7 separate regions of the Homo sapiens genome follow, and regions 1, 2, 3, 4, 5 and 7 are each linked to region 6. Evidence: promoter capture Hi-C in 16 types of primary human blood cells and fetal thymus (Javierre and others, 2016). All regions are on one chromosome and are shown on one strand. The core of a region is centred on a gene start or on the middle of the fragment in contact, and the rest is flanking DNA. Distances in the headings are between cores, read along the strand shown. Region 1 holds the start of BPIFB1 (BPI fold containing family B member 1). Region 2 overlaps EFCAB8 (EF-hand calcium binding domain 8). Region 3 has its middle 6.4 kb from the start of EFCAB8. Region 4 overlaps EFCAB8 (EF-hand calcium binding domain 8). Region 5 overlaps BPIFB1 (BPI fold containing family B member 1). Region 6 holds the start of BPIFB4 (BPI fold containing family B member 4). Region 7 overlaps EFCAB8 (EF-hand calcium binding domain 8).

Evidence for each region. The method cuts DNA at HindIII sites, captures the fragments that hold promoters and counts their contacts. A CHiCAGO score of 5 or more calls a contact.
Region 1: a fragment that was not itself captured here is called in contact with the fragment with the promoter of BPIFB4 in region 6 in 1 of 17 cell types (M0 macrophages); the score reaches 5.0 in M0 macrophages.
Region 2: a fragment that was not itself captured here is called in contact with the fragment with the promoter of BPIFB4 in region 6 in 2 of 17 cell types (megakaryocytes and endothelial precursors); the score reaches 8.7 in megakaryocytes.
Region 3: a contact is called between a fragment that was not itself captured here and the fragment with the promoter of BPIFB4 in region 6, in 1 of 17 cell types (megakaryocytes). The highest score is 5.6, in megakaryocytes.
Region 4: a contact is called between a fragment that was not itself captured here and the fragment with the promoter of BPIFB4 in region 6, in 2 of 17 cell types (megakaryocytes and activated CD4 T cells). The highest score is 5.7, in megakaryocytes.
Region 5: a contact is called between a fragment that was not itself captured here and the fragment with the promoter of BPIFB4 in region 6, in 6 of 17 cell types (M0 macrophages, endothelial precursors, M1 macrophages and 3 more). The highest score is 7.0, in M0 macrophages.
Region 7: a contact is called between a fragment that was not itself captured here and the fragment with the promoter of BPIFB4 in region 6, in 4 of 17 cell types (non-activated CD4 T cells, activated CD4 T cells, megakaryocytes and 1 more). The highest score is 5.7, in non-activated CD4 T cells.

The regions. Positions count from the first base shown.
Region 1 is chr20:33,280,833-33,283,532 of GRCh38, forward strand. It overlaps BPIFB1 (BPI fold containing family B member 1), which reads left to right and starts at 2,382. Exons shown (of 16, transcript NM_033197.3): 1 at 2,382-2,422. RefSeq lists enhancers at 454-954, 955-1,455. The HindIII fragment of the contact is 5,854 bases long and covers 1-2,700 here.
Region 2 is chr20:32,944,949-32,947,648 of GRCh38, forward strand. The region is part of intron 23 of EFCAB8 (EF-hand calcium binding domain 8); the gene reads left to right. Among named protein-coding and RNA genes, the nearest start is that of SUN5, 58 kb to the right of the region's middle. The HindIII fragment of the contact is 687 bases long and covers 989-1,675 here.
Region 3 is chr20:32,851,156-32,853,855 of GRCh38, forward strand. No RefSeq gene overlaps it. Among named protein-coding and RNA genes, the nearest start is that of EFCAB8, 6.4 kb to the right of the region's middle. The HindIII fragment of the contact is 400 bases long and covers 1,233-1,632 here.
Region 4 is chr20:32,881,717-32,884,416 of GRCh38, forward strand. The region is part of intron 5 of EFCAB8 (EF-hand calcium binding domain 8); the gene reads left to right. Among named protein-coding and RNA genes, the nearest start is that of EFCAB8, 24 kb to the left of the region's middle. The HindIII fragment of the contact is 4,347 bases long and covers 1-2,700 here.
Region 5 is chr20:33,298,878-33,301,577 of GRCh38, forward strand. BPIFB1 (BPI fold containing family B member 1) reads left to right here. Exons shown (of 16, transcript NM_033197.3): 8 at 1,022-1,107; 9 at 2,356-2,535. LOC105372594 (a long non-coding RNA gene) reads left to right here. Exons shown (of 2, transcript XR_936685.3): 2 at 194-976. Among named protein-coding and RNA genes, the nearest start is that of BPIFB1, 17 kb to the left of the region's middle. The HindIII fragment of the contact is 1,697 bases long and covers 537-2,233 here.
Region 6 is chr20:33,078,237-33,080,936 of GRCh38, forward strand. It overlaps BPIFB4 (BPI fold containing family B member 4), which reads left to right and starts at 1,407. Exons shown (of 18, transcript NM_182519.3): 1 at 1,407-1,467; 2 at 2,233-2,340. The HindIII fragment of the contact is 19,838 bases long and covers 1,146-2,700 here.
Region 7 is chr20:32,927,688-32,930,387 of GRCh38, forward strand. The region is part of intron 20 of EFCAB8 (EF-hand calcium binding domain 8); the gene reads left to right. Among named protein-coding and RNA genes, the nearest start is that of EFCAB8, 70 kb to the left of the region's middle. The HindIII fragment of the contact is 507 bases long and covers 1,115-1,621 here.

The DNA of each region.
Region 1 (2,700 bases), core at 94-2,593, 200 kb after region 6:
TTGGTGAATTAGAAGAAGCCAGAATGAGAGCTGGAAGGAGAGCGCTCCTGGGATAAGGCCAGCATGTGCGCAGGCCCTGGGGTGGGAGTGAGAGGAGCGAGGGATGAAGTAGAGAGAGGTGAGGGCTGAAAGGTGGCCAGCAGCCAAACATGCTGGGAAGAGGACATCCAGGCCAGGTGGAGCAGCAGTCAGGCAGCTTTATGCAGATGTTGCGTTCTTTTTTGTGTGTGTGAGACAGAGTCTTGCTCTGTAGCCCGGGCGGGAGTGCAGTGGTGCGATCTTGGCTCACTGCAACCTCTGCCTCCTGGGTTCAAGTGGTTCCCCTGCCTCAGCCTTCTGAGTAACTGGGTCTACAGGCACGTGCCACCTAAAAACCATGCCCGTCTAATTTTTTTTTTTTTTTTTTTTTAGAGACAGGGTTTCACCATGTTGACCAGGCTGATCTCAAACTCCTGACCTCAGGTAATCCACCAGTATTTGCCTCCCAAAATGCTGGTATTACAGGTGTGAATTTACCACTTGCTGAATTCTCTGATGTTTCAAGCATTTCTCATGACCTTACGAGACCCTCAAAATAGTCCCATTTCACAATGGAGGAAACAGTCTCATAGAGAAGAAGCAATTTTCCCAAGGCTGACAGCTGTCAGTATAGGAGCAGGAATCTGAGCCGTGTCTGTCGGCCTCCACAGGCTTCCTCCTGCACTCCTGCGCTTCTTCCCAGACAGGGCACAATTAGGTTTTCAGGAGGGTGAAGGAGGTACTCCAGAAAGAGGACACGGCACAAAAAGGCCTGGGAGCTGAAGAGAGGTGGAGCCAAGGCCAAGAGACGCCAGCAACCTGAGGAGGGGCCACGCGGTACTGAGGGCAGGTGTGGAGTCTGGGGACCATGGGCCTGCAGAGATGCAGCCAGCTTTGCTGTCCCAGCACGTGGCAGGAAGCAGGAGCTGATGCGGCCCCAGGTCTTGGCATTGGGCCCGAGCACCGCACAGAGGGTCATTGTCCATGGGCAGTGGGCATGGCCAGCTGGGAAGCCAAGCAGGGGCATTTGCCTCTCTGGAGATGTGCCCAAGGGATCGGCAGGGTCCTCCCAAGAGCTCTCTCAAAACACCTCACCTTTAGGTATTCAGGGCTTTTGGTGTGTTTGCAAACATGGCAGGACAGCAAACGCTCTTCACCTTGTTCTTCTTGTCAAAAAGCAGGAGGAAGAGACCAGCCAGGGCCTGGCCACGTACTTTGTGACCTCAGAACACTTACTGCCCCTGACTTGTCTGCTGCAGATGGAGACAGGATTCAACAATGGCCATCCCAGCTCTAAACCACAATTCCATTCTTCTAGACAAAAACTGGGTAGCAAGGATAATTCCCCAGATGACATCAAAAGGCCATGTTGGTGTCACCACCACCTCCAGTGCTAAATTGAAGTCTCAGGGGAAGGACAGTGTGGCGGTTAAGAGGGTCCGGTCTGGACTGATGATCGGGTTCAGGTCCCAAAGCTGGAATCCCTGGTCATGTGACCTTGAGCAAGTCACTCGCCTCTCTGAGCCTCAGGTGCCCTCTGTAACATTAACGCTGCTGATGCCCACCTCTGGGTGACTGTGCAGGCTGCGTGAGCCAAGACCTGGGCCCAGGTGGTGGATGACAGCGTCCTGCTGGGCTCTGACATTTGTCCTTTAGGTTCATGGTCATCCCTCCTTATTCTTTTGGTCCACAAGTGCTCATGGAGATTCCTAAAGATGCAGACAAGGTAGAGCAGATTTTAATTGCTGCGGAATGAATGAATGAATGAAATGAAAGCCCATGCTAAGCACTGTGTAGGCATGCACTTCAACTCATGCTCTTAACAACCTATGAGGAGGAGCTACTATTATCCCCATGCTATAGATGAGGTCATTGGGGCCCAGAGAGGTGAAGTACCTTGCCCAAGGGCACACAGCAAAGCAGTGGCAAAAATAGGATTCAAATCTATTCTCCTGGGTGAATTAATTGATGGAGATGTGTATCTTTGATGTATTTAGGAATAAGGGGTGGGTAAGGCTACTCCTTCCTTTTCCCAAATTGATTATCTGGATTAAACAATTGTTGTAATCCCTCTACAAAGGCTCATCCTATTATAAGCAATAATAATATTAATGGCAACGGCCACTCACATTTATGGAGTGCTTATTCTGCTATATGCACTGTGCTTCTCTCAGCCTGGACCTTCCTTTCTCCAAACCTCAGGAAGCTGGAGTCCCAAGGCTGCCTCCGGGCGGGGCTGTGGTTCAGCAGAAGCCACAAATATTTACCTTGGAGACCTCGGCCTGGTCTGAGGCCTCTGCCTAAAGACAAAGCCTGTGCTGGGGTGTGCAGGATATAAGGTTGGACTTCCAGACCCACTGCCCGGGAGAGGAGAGGAGCGGGCCGAGGACTCCAGCGTGCCCAGGTAAAAGTAGGGAAGGGGCTGAAAGCCAAGGTTGCCAGGAAGGTTCTGAGCTAGAGATACCTGTTGGGGTCAGGTCAGGAGCACAGGGGAGGCTCGCCCTCAGGGAAGGGCCCTCGGTGAGTCAGGATCCGCTGAGGGTCAGGGCCAGGTGTAGAGAGATGCCCAGCTCCCTCGCCCAGAGGACCAAAGGGCAGTGACGAAGGGATGGGGCTGGCTGAGTGTTTTCCTGACCTCTTCCTAGTGACATAAACCCACTCTGCACATACCAGTTGCTCTGT
Region 2 (2,700 bases), core at 82-2,581, 130 kb before region 6:
AATGCATATATTGTCCATTTGACGATGTCTCATAAATCCCTTAAGTTTTCTTTACTCTTTAAAATTCTTTTTTCTTTTTTGCTTCTCTGACTGGATATCTTCAAGTCTGCTGATTTTTCCTTCTGCTTGATCAAGCCTGCTGTAGATGACTTTTGAATTCAATTATTTTACTCTTCATCTTCAGCTCTAGAATTTCTGTTATTTTTATTATTATTATTATTATTTTTTGAGACAGGGTCTTGCTCTGCCACCCAGGGTTGAGTGCAGTGGCACGAATTCAGCTCACTGAAGCCTTGACCTCCCAGCCTCAAGTGATCTTCCCACAGCCTCCTGAGTAGCTGGGACTACAGGTGCATGCCATCATGCCTGGCTAATTTTTTGTATTTTTTGTAGAGACAGAGTTTCACCATGTTGCCCAGGCTGGCCTTGAATTCTTGAGCTCAAGTGATCGCCCACCTAAGCTTCCCAAAGTGTTGGGATTATAGGTGTGGGCCACCATGGCTGGCCTCTGTTTGGTTCTTTTCTATATTTTCTGTGTCTTCACTAATATTCTCAGTTTGTTCATGTATTGTTTCCCTGAGCTTGTTGAGCATTTTTATTACGGTTACTTAGAATTCTTTGTCAAATAATTAATATACCTCAATTTCTTTAGCGGCAGTTTCTGGAGATTTATTTTGTTCCTTTGGGCCATGCTTTCCTATTTTTTTTGTGTGCCTTATAACTTTATATTGGGATCCATGCATTTGTAAAATCAGCCACCTCTCCCAGTCTTTATATACTGGCTTCATTCAGGGAAAATTCTGCACCAATCAGCTTGGCTAAAGATTCTGGGTGCCTCCCCAATCTTTTTTGTGGATACTTTCACCAGACTTACGCATGTAAATTCGCAATTACAGGAATCTACAGGTTTATTTTTTTCAGGAGTCCATTATCTCTTGCTCTCTCTGGTGTCTATTTGCAGTACTGCAAGTTCTCTAGAGCGGCTACAAGCTTCCCCCAGGCCTCTAGAATATGCTGGGTCCTTCAATAGTCTGAGAGAGGCAAGACAGAAACCAGTTTCTTGGGTACCCCTCAAAGGCTAACATTGGATATGTATGCTCCAAATCTGCCTCCTCAAGGAGAAGCTGGAAGTTGGGTTGTTTTCTCTACTCATTCCACAGAGCGGCAGGAGGGACTCTGATAGTGTGTGCTAGTCTAAATTGTCACCTTTGTTCTTAGTAGCCCAGTCTGGTGCCTCTTCCTGTCAGTGCTTAGATTCAGGCAAGACAGAAACTGGTTAATCATGCAGCCCTCTGAAAAGTCTGCATGTTGGATGTACATCTCAGTCTTTCCCTCCCAGGGAGAAGCTGGAAGCTGGTGGTTCCTTCCCAATCTGCTTCACTGAGCCAGGAGGAGGGATTACAAGTGAGCACTATGAATTTTCCTACTGGCTTCAGTGCAGCTGGTTTTTTGTTTTTTGTTTTTTTGGTTTTTGTTTGTTTGTTTTTTCATTCATCTGGGATGAATGGTCCTGGTTTCTGGTCCATGTACTGTTGTTCAGTCAGTGTCTCCATAGGGAGAAGGAAGTTCTGGATCTTCCTATTCTACCATCTTGCTGATGTCACCCATTTTTTTGTATCTTTCAAAGACGTCTTTGACTATCCCCTAAATATAATATCTAGTGTTATCTTTTAGAAGCTTGTTTTAAAAATCAGATTTCTGAAGTATAATTTACATCCAATAAAAGCACCTTTTAAAAGTATATAGTTCTGTGAGGTTTCATGAATGCATACAATTGTGTAATTGGTATCACAATCAAGACATAGACATTACCCCAAAAAGTGACCTCATGTCTCCTCATAGTAAACTCTATTTCCTTCTCCTAACCCCTGGCAGCCATTGATCTGTTTGTCTCTATAGTTTTGCCTTTTCCAGATTATCATAAATGGAAACATACACATGTAGCTGAGTGAAAGTCTAACTTTCACTTAGCATAATCAATTTGAGATTCATCTTTGTTGTTGAACGTATCAGTAGTTTGTTCTTTTTATTGCTGAGTATTATTCCACTGTATGGCTCTGTCATAGTTTGTTAATCCATTCACCAATTATAGGACATTTGAGTCATTGTCAGTTTTGGATGATTATGAATGAAGCCGCTTTAAACATTGTTTTCATTTCTGTTGGGTAAGTATTTAGAAGCAGAATGGCTGGGTTGTATGGTAAGTGTATTGAAACTTTATGAAAAATGACCAAACTGTTTTGCATTTCTACCTTTGTGTCTTCATCAACATTTGGTGTTTGATCTGTTATTATTTTAAATTTTAATAATCTATGATTGTAGCATGAGATTTCAATATTCTCTCAATTTATAAAACAACTATACAGAAAATCATTAATGATATAGAATACTTGAATAACACTATCAAACAATTTTACTTAATTAACATTTATAGATCATTCATAAACAAACATTATTTTTAAGTGCACACAGAACATTAATTAAACCGACCATATTCTGGTAACAAAACACATCTCACTAATCTCAAAAGGATTTATGCCATACAAAGTATGTTCTCTGATCCCAATGAAACTGAATTATAAATCAAAAACAGAAATATCTTTGAAATATCCCTAAATATTTGGAAGCTAAATGACACATTTCTAAATAACCCATGGGCCAAAAAAAGAAATCCAGAGGGAAATTAGAAAATATTTTGAA
Region 3 (2,700 bases), core at 183-2,682, 230 kb before region 6:
GGCTCACTGCAGCCTTGCCCTCTTGGGTTCAAGCGATCCTCCCACCTCAGCCTCGTGAGTAGTGGGGACTACAGGCATGCACCACCATGCCCAGCTAAACTTTGTATTTTTTGTAGAGATGGGGTCCCCTTATGTTGCCCAGGCTTGTCTTGAACTCCTGGGCTCAAGTGATCCTCCCACCTTGACCTCCTAAAGTGCTGGGATTACAGGTGTGAGCCACTGCACCCAGCCCTGAAAGTATGTTTCAAAGTCAGTTAACATGATCTTAATCTATAAAATAATCTAAAATTGTCACCATTTTTTTCTCCCTTATAAAATTATATGCTATTAGAAATGAGTTCAAAAGGAGACTTGCTGCCATTTTCTGTCAGAAATAAAGTTAAATGGGCAGAGATAGTGTGTTGTAGGATATGTAGAGTCATGGTTATGGATGCTCTATAAACCCAACCTGATGATCTTGACAAGGGTTGCACCCATAGTTAATGGTATGATACCTCCCTTAAAGTGTTAAATACCTTCAGAAGGAATTTGACACCATATGTATTGGTCATCTACAAGAAGATACCTTCCAGGAGTGCAAGGAGTTTGTGAAGATACTGTTGGCTACTGTCAATTGAGAAGTTACCTTGGTAAAGAGAGAAGCCAAAACTGTGGGTATCTGACCAAGTGCATTGACCTGGCTCTTGAATTTGAAGCACATACAGTCTTTGCTGCTTGGTTTGCTTGGCAGGTTCTGTGTTTCATGAAGGATAGGTAAACAAATGGGTTCTCTGGCTCAATTTGGATCATTGTTCATGCTGATGATTCTCAAACTGATGGGCTTCAGAATCACATGGGGAACTTGTTTGACATAATGTATTTATAAAAATTCATCACCAGAGATTCTGAGTTTGGAGGTTGAAAACCTGCATTTTAATTTGGGCCTTATCTACATGTCTGCAATTTTAAATAATAATTCTGGCAAGGGGAACATCAGACTTGAGTCCTCTTGCAGGTCTCTCCTGCTTTGTGAGTTTTGAGCTATTTGACCTCTCTTGTTCTTACATGCAAGACAGAGATGATGATTTTGGCTGACGTGCCTCCCTCACTGGGTACTTGTTGGGATTAGAAGGAGCTGATGGACCAAAAAAAAACAGCACCACAAAGCTAAAAAGCTCTGTACAGACAAGAGGCATTATTTATGGCACAAGTTCTTCAGATCTGGTCTGAAATTCTGTTTATAGATTAGAAAAAGCTTAGGACAGGGCTTTTGTATCCTCAGAATTCGGAAGGGCATTCCTTCAGACAGGCTTTGGGTGTTTTGTAAAATACACCCAAAGTATTTCCTTTTCAGCATGGTATATGGACAAGTAGAACTCCCTTATGTCTTCAGGCTCTTATGTTTATCCTGTTTTTGTTTTCTTTTAAATGAAGATTCAATGTCTCAGATTCATTGATTAAAAACCCATATTTTCTTCAAGATTTACTCTCTAGAATGTGAAGGGTTTTGAAAAGGAAGCATTTTTCTTTTGCCCTAGCCAAGGTGATCCTCTGTAGTTTTTCTTTTAAGGATTGTTTTAGAAGATTGAGTATAAAGGACTCCTTTTGTGATGTTGACCATAGTTCATTGCAAAGTCCACAAATAAAAATCCAAGCTTTAGGCCTGATCAGCCTAGTCAGATTAGCTTGCTAGCATGTGGGTGACCCAAATCTGATTGTTGACAACAGAGAACATTGCTTTGAAACAAGCTGAACCTCAGTCTGTGATCAGTGTTGTGAACCACCCGTCATTTTTCTGGTCTGGCACTGTTGTAATATGTCTTTTTTTTTTTTTTTTTTTTTTCCCCAGACAGTCTTGCTCTGTCACCCAGGCTGGAGTGCAGTGGCACGATCTTGGCTCACTGCAACCTCCACCTCCCAGGCTGAAGCAGTTCCCGTACCTCAGCCTCCTGAGTAGCTGGGATTACAGGCCTGTGCCACTATGCCTGGCTAATTTTTGTATTTTCAGTAGAGATGGAGTTTTGCCATGTTGCCCAAGGTAGTCTCGAACTCCTGGCCTCAAGTGATCCACCTGTCTTGGCCTCCCAAAGTGCTGGGATTACAGGTGTGAGCCACCACTCCCTGCTTGATATCATACTTTTGGATTCACACATTTAGTTTGTAAAATGTCAAAACCAGATGAGTTCATATTTATTTCTGTATCTTCATGACGCTTGCTGCTTTTTTTCTCTTCATTTTCACATGCGAGGGTATAACTGAGTGTTCAGGGTTTTCTCTGAAAGCCTGAAGGGATTGTGTACTTTTACATTGAACTTGACTGCAGTTAGAACCATTAACCTAGATGACTTCAGCCAAATTATGTATTGTTTTTGTTTTTGTTTTTTTGAGACAGGGTCTCCTGTCACCCAGGCTGGAGTGCAGTGGCACAGTCATGGCTCATGACAGCCTCAACTTCCTGGGCTTCAGCTGTCCTCCCACCTCAACCTCCATAGTAGCTGGGACTGTAGTGCACACCACCATGCCTGGCTGGCTAATTTTTTTTTTTTTTTTTTTTTTGAGACAGAGTTTCATTCTTGTTGCCCAGGTTGGAGTACAGTGGTGCCATCTTGGCTCACTGCAACCTCCGCCTCCTGGGTTCAAGCGAGTCTCCTGCCTCAACCTCGAGAGTAGCTGGGATTACAGGCGCCCACCACCACACCCAGCTAATTTTTGTGTTTTTAG
Region 4 (2,700 bases), core at 24-2,523, 200 kb before region 6:
CCCTCAGTCCATTCTCATTCATAGAGAATAGGGTTACACGAGTTCCAAACTCGCGAGCCATTTTTACCATGAGACAATATAGCTGTATTTATTTTTAACCCCCATTTTGCCAGATGGGATGAAGGCGCAATCCACCCCCATCAGGCCCTTAGGGAATTCTGACAACGTTTTAAAACATGGTGACTGTTTCTTGCTTAGAAATTATCCCTGCCCAGGCATGGTGGCTCACACCTGTAATCCCAGCACTTTGGGAGGCCAAGGTGGGTGGCTTACCTGAGGTCAGGAGTCCTGGCCAACATGGTGAAACCCTGTCTCTACTAAAAATACAAAAATTAGCTGGATGTGGTGGCAGGCACCTGTAATCCCAGCTACTCGGGAGGCTGAGACAGGAGAATTGCTTGAACCCAGGAGGCAGAGGTTGCAGTGAGCCGAGATTGCGCCATTGCTGTCCAGCCTGGGCAACAAGAATGAAAACTCCGTCTCAAAAAGAAAAAAAAAAACAGCATGCAAATGCAATTCAGCCCACTGAGGCTGATCAGTTTCTACCTTCTTTGCTGCAAGTGGCAGCCCTCCAAACAGAATATCGTCCATTCACTTTGAAACTGTAAACCCAGCATTTCCTCGTTGGTCACTTGATAGCTGTTCACGGCACACTGTCCAAGTGTCGACAGAACCCAGCAGCACCTCACACAGTTCCGGAATCAGTCCTGGGGTAAAGAGGCTCATAGCCTGTGAGTATCTCTTGCTTGCATTCCCCAGGTAGCAAGATGCTGAGTAAACCATTTCCATTTTATTGTATTTATTTTTTGGGATTTTATTTTTGAGACAAGGTCTTGCTCTGTGGCCCAGGCTAGAATGCAGTGGCATCATCTCAGGTCACTGCAACCTCCACTTCCTGGGTTCAAGTGATTCTTTTGCCTCAGCCTCCCGAGTAACTGGGATTACAGGTGGCCGCCACCACGCCTGGCCGATTTTTTGTTGTTGTTGTTGTTGTTTTGAGACAGAGCCTTGCTCGGTCGCCCAGGCTGGAGTGCAGTGGTGCAATCTCGGCTCACTGCAAGCTCTGCCTCCCGGGTTCATGCCGTTCTCCTGCCTCAGCCTCCCGAGTAGCTGGGACTACAGGCGCCCACCACCATGCCCAGCGATTTTTTTGCATTTTTAGTAGAGACGGGGTTTCACCATGTTAGCCAGGATAGTCTCAATCTCCTGACCTCATGATCTGCCCGCCTCGGCCTCCCAAAGTGCTGGGATTACAAGCGTAAGCCACCGCGCCTGGCCTAGTTTTTGTATTTTTAATAGAGACGGGATTTCACCGTATTGGCCAGGCTGATCTTGAACTCCTGATCTCAGGTGATCCACCTGCCTTGGCCTCCCAAAGTGCTGGTATTACAGGTGTGAGTCATTGCGCCTGGCCAACCATTTCCATTTTATTATGGAATTTCTGGCCTCTGTAGGCCCCATTAGAGCATTTCTCTGATATCACCCAAGACATCTGGGTATTTCAGGTTTCAAGATAATTTTATATCCTTCAGTCGTAGGGGTAGCTTCAGTTAATGTCCCATAACAAGGTAGTAAATGCCCCTCAAGAGGACATTCCCTAGTCCAAAGTCCCAGTAGCTGTTGCCGGGAGGCGCTTACAGGCTTTTGTCGTAAGCCCCAGGAAATGCTCCACAGAGGGCTATCCAGTGGAGAATTTGTCCCTGCCAGCTCTCTAGCTTCTACTCTGCACTGTGTGGGCCTGGGCAATCTTACTGGTTCCCATGTAGCATGTCCAGTTCATATAGCTTGAATGGCGATTTACATACCTCTGTTTTATAGCAGTAGGAAGGGGAGACATTCCCTAATTAGATATAGTGTTCATTCCCATGATACAATCAGATAAAAGCAACCATTTGAACATGAAGTATGTTCAAATACATAACTGTACATTTTGGCATGAACACATTGCTTAATAAGGTCAAGCCTTCACTGGTCTATTTCTTTTTTTTTTTGGAGACGGAGTCTCACTCTGTCACCCAGGCTGGAGTGCAGTGGCGCAATCTTGGCTCAGTGCAACCTCTGTCTCCCGGGTTCAAGCGATTCTCCTGCCTCAGCCTCCTGAGTAGCTGGGACTACAGGCGTGTGCTACCACACCTGGCTAATTTTTGTATTTTTAGTAGAGATGGGGTTTCACCACGTTGGCCGGGCTGGTCTTGAACTCCTGACCTCAAGTGGTCTGCCCGCCTCCTGACCTCAAGTAATCCTCCTGACCTCAAGTGATCCACTCACCTCAGCCTTCCAAAGTGCTGGGATTACAGGCGTGAGCCACTCTGCCCGGTCAGGTCTTTCTATTTCTTTGGGCCATTTAGATCTCAAGGGTGTTTAAAGGTCCTGAAACAGAATGTCAAGAGGCTTGTTCCTATATTCTCCTATTTATTTGTTCAACCTACAAACCCGGAGAGCATTTCCAACTTGGTGGGGAAAATAAATGAGTAATATTTAATTACCTTCATGAAAGAGTAACTTAAAACATTGGCTTACCTTTACTGAGCCTGGGCCGGGTGCACCAAATGCAGCCTCTCATCTGATCCCATCACAGCCCTAGGAGGTGCAGGTGCTGTCATCATGCAGGTGAGGAAACCAAGTCCTCCCTGAGATGGCCTGTCCTTAGGGCTGTCTTCCCTTTTCCTAGCTGTCACCTATCATCCCATTCTGCACAGT
Region 5 (2,700 bases), core at 135-2,634, 220 kb after region 6:
ATTACATTTTGTTGACAAGTCTGTAGATTTCTCTTTGTAAATCACATTTTTTTGTTGTTGTTATAGCCATTTTCGGGGACCTTATTGACTTTAATATACTTTTTTTTTTTTTTTGGAGACGGACCTTTTTTCTTTTTTTAAAGTAATTTTTACAGGAGTCATGCTCATCGTCTCTATGTCCTTCCGATTTTAGTACATGTGCTGCCCTGGCGGGCACTATACCCTCATTTTAAGACGAGGAAACAGATTCAGACGCGAGAAGAGACCAGCCAAGGTCACTGGGGCTCAAACCGAAGTCCAGCTGGCTCCTCCGCTGCCCCGAGGACGGGCCCGGAGGTCTCCCTGGAGCGGTAGGCGGCCGGTCCCTGGCCCTCCAGCACTCCCCATCCTCGGCCATACACCGGGGCAGGTGACACACCACCGCCACCTGGCGGCCAAGTGGGGAATTCTGACGCGAACACGAGATCTTTGGGGGGAGCAGAGGAGCCAGTTTGGATTTCAGAGTAGATGTTACCAGGCCTCTGGCTTCCAGCCTAAGCTTCCTTGAGATCCAGGTGCTCATAGGGTGTCCAGACCCAGAACCACCTGCATGGGGGACGCGGCTTTCAGTCTGGTAGGGGCGGTGGAGTGTTACATACAATAGTTCAGTTCCGTTCCAAACCGGGACTTTGGCATAAAACCGACTGGGTTCCCATGCTCTCATAGTATGGCTTTGAACAGGTCATTTCCCTTTCCTCAGACTTGGTTTCACCATCTGTAAAAGGGGGTAATAATAAGACCTACTTCCTAACGTTATCATGCAGATGAACCAGCTGACATGCAGAGGCCTGGCACTTAGTGGATGCTCGATAAATGTCACTGTCATCACTGTTTGCATCATTATTATCAACATCATTATTACCTGCTCCTCCCTACCTGCCCCCCCATGCAACAGTACAGCTCCACCTGGAAGCAGCCCCCCAACTTCCCCCTCCAATACTGCCCTCCACCCTCACAGAACTTTCTTCTTGTCCTTGAGCAGTGCCCATTTCCCTCAGCATTGACCGTCTGGAGTTTGACCTTCTGTATCCTGCCATCAAGGGTGACACCATTCAGCTCTACCTGGGGGTGAGTGTCCCAGGACCTTGAGGGTGAAGTGGGGACATTGCTGCCCTTCTCTGACCACCAGGAGTCAGATAGCATGGGCCTGTGTTAGGAGAGAAAATCCTGGTCACCATTAGGACACGGGCTGATCTAGAAAAATCACTGCAGGCTGAATATGTCCCATGCAAGTTTGTTTTGTTTTGTTTTTTTGAGACTGAGTCTCACTGTCACCCAGAGTGACATGGGGGGGCCCGAGTGGGGACACTGGGCCCTCAGCCTTTCTCTCAGGCAAGTCCCTGCCAATCCCCAAACCTATGACAACCTTGAAACAAAAGCCAAGGATCAAGAAACACAGACCTAAGTTTCTCTCCTAGCTCTATGATTCCCTGGCTATGTGACTTTGGGCAAGTTCCTTTACCTCCCTGAGCCTCAGTTTCCTTGTCTGCAAAATGTCAGTAATAATGGCCACTGAGGAGAGGATGAAATGAGACCACACCATGCCTGGCAGACCAGAAGTGCCCAGTAACTGTCAGCTCCCTGTCCAATGTGGAGCTGCACAGCCATGCTGTGGCTGGACGCCCCAAAGGGCCAGACCATCCTGGTAGCATGAATCCCAGACTAGGTTTCTTTTGTTTTGTTTTTTTGAGACTGAGTCTCACTCTGTCACCCAGGCTGGAGTGCAGTGGTGCCATCACAGCTCACTGCAGCCTTGACCTCCTGGGCTCAAGCGATCCTCTCACCTCAACCTCCTGAGTAGCTGGGACTGCAGGCACTCGCCACCACGCCTGGCTAATTTTCTGTATTTTTTGTAAAGATGGGGTTCCGCCATGTTGCCCAGGCTGGTCTCAAACTCCTGGGCTCAAATGATCCTCCCACTTCGGCCTCCCAAAGTGCTAAGATTACAAGCATGAGCCAACACGCCTGGCCCCTGGACTAGTTTCTATGGATCCTTTGGAAAACTGCAGCATCAAATCGTTTCTTCCATTTTGTTGTAGTTTTTAATTTTCCCTCCATCCAAAGGGTTTGAGGTGTCTGAGAAGTTGAAGCATGGGAAAAAAAACGAAGATATCTGGTACAAAAAATAAAAGTCAGAGATTATCCGAGGGGCAAAGATGGAGTAGATGTTGCCACACACCTGAGCTCCAGGCTAAGCTTCCTGGCAACAAATGCACAAAAAGGAAACAGGCTGAATGGTGTCATTTCCTTCTAGGTTGCTATTGGGTAAGCTGCAGAGTTAAAATTCTTAGCTGACTCCCTGCTCTGTCTCCTCAGGCCAAGTTGTTGGACTCACAGGGAAAGGTGACCAAGTGGTTCAATAACTCTGCAGCTTCCCTGACAATGCCCACCCTGGACAACATCCCGTTCAGCCTCATCGTGAGTCAGGACGTGGTGAAAGCTGCAGTGGCTGCTGTGCTCTCTCCAGAAGAATTCATGGTCCTGTTGGACTCTGTGGTAAACCTCAGCACAAGGCAGAGAATAGGGCCGCCCAGGCCACATCATAGGAATTTCCTGAACACAGGGTGCCCCTAAGCAGGAATCCTCCATCAGGCTCAGTTTAATGGAGATCTCACTCCCTCCTCTAATAGACCCTGCCTCTGACATAGCTCTAAACCTAAA
Region 6 (2,700 bases), core at 157-2,656:
GCTGGCCTAGGAGTGGGGCACATAGCTGGTTCGCCTGGAGAAACAACACTTCACTATGGGCCCCAGGGATCTCTGGATGGGCCAGAGGAACTGTAGGGGCTGGGGGAAGCTTCCTGCAGCTGCTTACCTTTCACCCTTAGAATCTGGAGAGGGCTTTGTAGACAGCAGGGACTGCACATGCAAAGGCCCAGAGGCAGGGAGCACAGGGGGTGATGAGGAGGGGATGGAAGGAATGAGTAGCTCTGTGTGAAGAGAGGACTGGGATGTGTGTACGGAAGGCCTTGGATGCCAAGTGAAGTGGTCTGGGCTGTGTCCCAGCAGGTTTTGGAGGGTGCAACTGGGAAAAGGCAGACGGAACATTCTGGGGTGGTGGAAATGTTCTATATTGTGATAGGAGTGTGGGCTGCATGACCGTAAAAAATGGTCAAAACTCAGCAAATGAACATTTAAGATTTGTGCATGTCACTGTATTTAAAGATATAAAGAAAAGAATCTGAATGCCATGCAGGGTGAAGTGTTTAGTGGTAGTATACTGATGTCTGCAACTTTCAAATGCATAAAAAATAAAAGATGGACTAACAGATGGATGCAAATATGACAAGAATGTAAATGGTGGGTATAGTTGGTGGGAACAACGTGACAACCATGTGTGTCCGCTGTACATTTCCTTCACCTTTGCTATAGGTATGAAAATTTCATGAGGAAATAGTTGGGAAAAACCTTGTTGTATCTCATACATAGTAAACACTCAATAAACAGCAGCTATTGTTATTACTTTGGGACTATTATTTCAGACCCCTAAGAAATGAGTGAGGAATATTTTTCAGATAAAAAAAATGCACATTCGTGCACCAGTCCCAAGTTTGAGGAGCTGGATTCATATTCGTCTCCTTTAGTCCTAAAATCAGCCCTGTGAGGCAGGTATTATACTCATTTGCCAGATGGAAAGAATGTGAGGCTCAGAGGAGGGAAGTGGCTGGCCCAAGGTCATACGGTGAGTTGGGGGTTGAGCAGGGTTTGAACCTGGGTCATCCTGATGCTGAGTCCAGCCTGGGCACCTCCTGTCTACCCAGATCATCTGGAATGGCTAGTGCCTGCCTTAGAGTTAGAAACTAGATGCATCTGGGGGTGATTCCAGTTCCCCAAGCTTGAGGCCTAGCTGGGGTCTCTGGGAATGTGCCCAGCCCAAGGGCTGATAAAACCCAGCTCATGTGACACCATCTGGGGCTGAGTGCAAGTCTTGGAATTAGCCACAAACCGCAAACCTTTATGGTTTTGGGGCTCAATGCCCAATTTGCAGAGCAAATCTGAATTCCGGTCTCTTGTAATTACACAGTGTTTCCCTCTCTGGGGTCTGGGCTCAGCCTCAGGCTGCTATATAAGACTGATCTGTGACCAGACTCAGCCAAAAGCAGAGGGGCTGGGGAACAGGACTTCTCAAGACTCAGCGGCAGGGACCTCCTAGGGGTAAGGAGGCGCACCTTGTCTACTCAGTGTCCGGCAGGGGAGGCACAGGCCTGGGAAGGTAATAAGGAGAGAGAGTCCCAGCCTGGAGATCCATCAGGATGGCCCCTCTCCAAGTTCAGGGGTCTTGTCTGTAGCATGGGCCTAGTCAGGAGAGCCTCTTGGGAATCAGCAAAAAGGCCTGGGTTATGCCAATTACATGCATGCGCAGAGCTGCACTCATCTTTCCCAGGGACGTTGGGTACCGAGGGCCTTTGCTACCTCCTGGAGACTCCTCAGCTGTTTGCTGATGCCAGAAATCTTCCATCGGTGCCCATCTTTTTAACTGAAAGGGGTGATTCCTTTTTGAACACAGCTCTCTGGAAAGTGAGGTTAGGATGAGGTGAGGAAGCCAGAAAAAAATTATTGCATATAGTAGTCCTTTATATTCTAGTGTAAATGAATGCCTCTAATATTCTTCTGGGAGCAGATAGGAGTAGGGAAAGAATTTGGGGGCGCTGTGAAGTCCAAGAGAAATGGGGACAGAAAAAAGAGGAGAGTGTGCCTAAACAAAGGTGGCTGAAACCAACAATTTCTTGGCTCAGATGAGAGGCCATGCCCTGTGCTGACTCTCTGAGGTTGGTGGATGTGTAGCCGGGGCTGATGGAGTGAGAGAAGTGGATGAGGGCACAAAAGGAGCAAAAGAAAGTTTCCCAGAGGCTATGCAGCTCGTTCCAAAATGCATGTTTCACCTCCCCAATCTCATAACATTCCTCACCCACTTCTTAGGGGTCTGAAATAACAGTCCCAAAGTAATAACAATAGCTGCTCTTTATTGAGTGTCTACTATGTATGAGATACAACTTGTTTGTGATTTGGGAGCAGAAGTTCAAAAAGGTAAAGTCCCTTTCCTAAGCATTAAGACCCAGATATCTCTGACCTAGAGCCATTAATATTAACCACGTGGTGTAGAACTGACTCCTCCAAAGAGATGGGAAGAGTGTTTGCTGGTGAGCTGGATGTGTGGAAGGGTGGCTAGATGAATGCATTGATGAGTAGATAAACTGATGGAAAGATGAATGGATGGATGGATGGATAGCTGGGTGGATGGATGGTTGGTTGGATAGATGGATGGGCAGGAGGATATATGGCTTGCCAGCTGTTTGGATGACAGATGGATGATAGATATATGGGAAGATGGATGGATGGTGGGATGGGTGGACAGATTAATAAATAGAGGGAGGAGAATGAGTTGAT
Region 7 (2,700 bases), core at 118-2,617, 150 kb before region 6:
GATTTTGTAGGTGATTTTAATTTCCTTTCATATGTCTATGCTGCCCACATTTTGTACAGTGAGCACTTGCATAAAGTGGGGGAAATGCTTGCCCTTTGTCTTTGGTTCAGGGATTCCTGTTTTTTCTTTTTTTCAAAAAATTTTTCTTGTAGTGAAATACACATAACATAAAATTTACCATTGAAACCATTTTTAAGTGTATGGTTCAGTGGTAGTAAATATATTCATAATGTGCAGCCATCACCACTATCCATTCATCTTGTTAAATTGAAACTATACCCATTAAAAAATAACTCCCACTCCCCTCTCCCTCCAAACCCTGGAAACCCCCATTCTACTTTCTGTCTTTATGATTTTGACTATTCTACCTCATGCAAGTGGAATCATATGTTTGTCTTTTGGTAACTGGCTTATGTCACTTAGCATAATGTCCTCTTTGATTAATTCCCAAGTATTTTACTCTTTTTTTGACACTATTGTCAATGGAATTATTTTTGTAATTTCCTTTTCAGATTGTTCAACGTTAGTGTATAGAAATGCAACTGATTTTTTATTTTTTTTTTTTTGAGACAGAGTCTTGCTCTGTCGCCCAGGCTGGAGTACAATGGCACGATCTCGGCTCACTGCACCCTCTGCCTCCCAGGTTCAAGTGATTTTCCTGCCTCAGCCTCATGGGTAGCTGGGATTACAGGTGCATGCCACCACACCTGGCTAATATTTGTATTTTTTAGTAGAGACGGGCTTTCACCATGTTGACCAGGCTGGTCTCGAACTCTTGACCTCATGATCCACCTGCCTCAGCCTCCCAAAGTGCTGGGATTACAGGCATGAGCCACCGCACCCAGCCAATGCGACTGATTTTTATGTGTTGACTTTGTATCCTGCCATTTTGCTGAATTCATTTGTTAGCCCCTTTTTTTTGGTGTGGGAGCTTTAGCGTTTTCTACATATAAGATAATATCATCTGCAAACTTATAATTTTACTTCTTTCTTTCCAGTTTGGATACCTTTTATTTCTTTTTTTGCCTAATCCCTCTGGCAGAACTTCCAGTACTCTGTTGAATAAAAGTGGCAAAAGTGGACATTCTTGCCTTGTTCCTAATTCCAGAGGAAAAGCTTTCAGTCTTTTACTATTGAGTGTGATATTCATTGTGGGTTTTTCATATATGGCTTTTATTATGTTTAGGTAATGTCCTTCTATTCCTATTTTTTTTTTTTAATTTTGTCAAATCGTTTTCTGCATCAATTAAGATGATCGTGTGGGTTTTTTTCTTTTTTTGTGAAGGTGGTATATTTATTGATTTTTATATGTTGAATCATCCTTGCATTCCAGGAATAAAAGTCACTTGGTCATGGTATATAATCCTTTTAATATGCTACTGAATGCAGTTTGCTAATTTTTTTGATAATTTTTAAATATCAGTGTTCATAAGGGATATTTCTCTGTAGTCTTTTTTTTTTTCTTATAATGTCTTTGTCTGACTTTGATATCAGGGTAATGCTGGCCTCATAGAATGAGTTAGGAAGTGTTATCTCCTCTTCAGTATTCTGGAAAAGTTTGGGAAGGATTGGCATTCATTCTTCCTTAAATGTTTGGTAGAATTCACTGGTGAAGCCATCAAGCTTTGGGCACAAGGGACTTCTGGTTTTTGACCCTGGCACCGGGGCCAGTGGGAAGCAGGTTGAACAACTAATTTCGGATTTCTACAACAATAAGGATAATTGAGATTTTTTTCTTTCTTTTCTTTTCTTTCTTTTCTTTTTTCTCCCTTCCCTCCCCTCCCCTCCCCTCCCCTCCGCTTCTCTTCCCTTCTGTTTTTTTTTTTTTTTCTTTAAATAGAGATAGGGTCTCACTATGTTGCACAGGCTGTCTCGATCTCCTGGGCTCAAGTGATTCACCCGCCTCGGCCTCCCAAAGTGCTAGGATTACAGGTATGAGCCACCATGAGATTTTTGATAATCGAGATTTTTGTTGTTGGTGACATGTTTTGGGGACACATAAGCTATTACACTGTAAAGTTCTGAGCAGGAGTGAGGAAGCTTCCAATTTCCCCCTTCTGGCCTGATTTGCTCTACCACCCTCACTATGCTCTCAGCCTCCTGCTGGGTGCCAGGCAAGAAACTTTCTTCTCATGCTTGCCATGCAGAGTAACTTCCCACTGTGGCCCCCACATGGGCCACAGGTGTGACATGTAAGGGAAAAGTGAGCAGAGTGAGGAATTAGCAAAGGGCATGATCAAAACAAGTCTTGAACAAGAATTTGTTTAAAATGCTTTCTTGATGATTGGCTGGAAAATATGGATATTTCACTATAGATATACATGAAGGGGAATGAGTTCCTTCCCCACATCACTTTGGGTTGAGTTACAGGTTGTGAAAATCTTGTCTGAGCCTATGTCGAATCAAACTTGTAAGCCTTCATTTGATAAACATTTATTGATCATGTATTATGTGTCAGGCACCATTGTGGTTACTAAGGACAAAGTAGTGAACAAAAAAGACGCAAAATCCCTGCCCTCTAGTAGTTCATAGTCGAGTATGACGTTCCTTGTCACCAGCTGGGGAGGAAGGGTGGGACCACCATCACCACTTTCACTGGGCATCTAGGAAACTGGGGGACCAGGTGGGTGTGGTGACTTGCTGAGGTCCCTCAGCACCATGTGACAGTGGCTCACAGCCCTGCTGAGCCGGGCCCTCCTC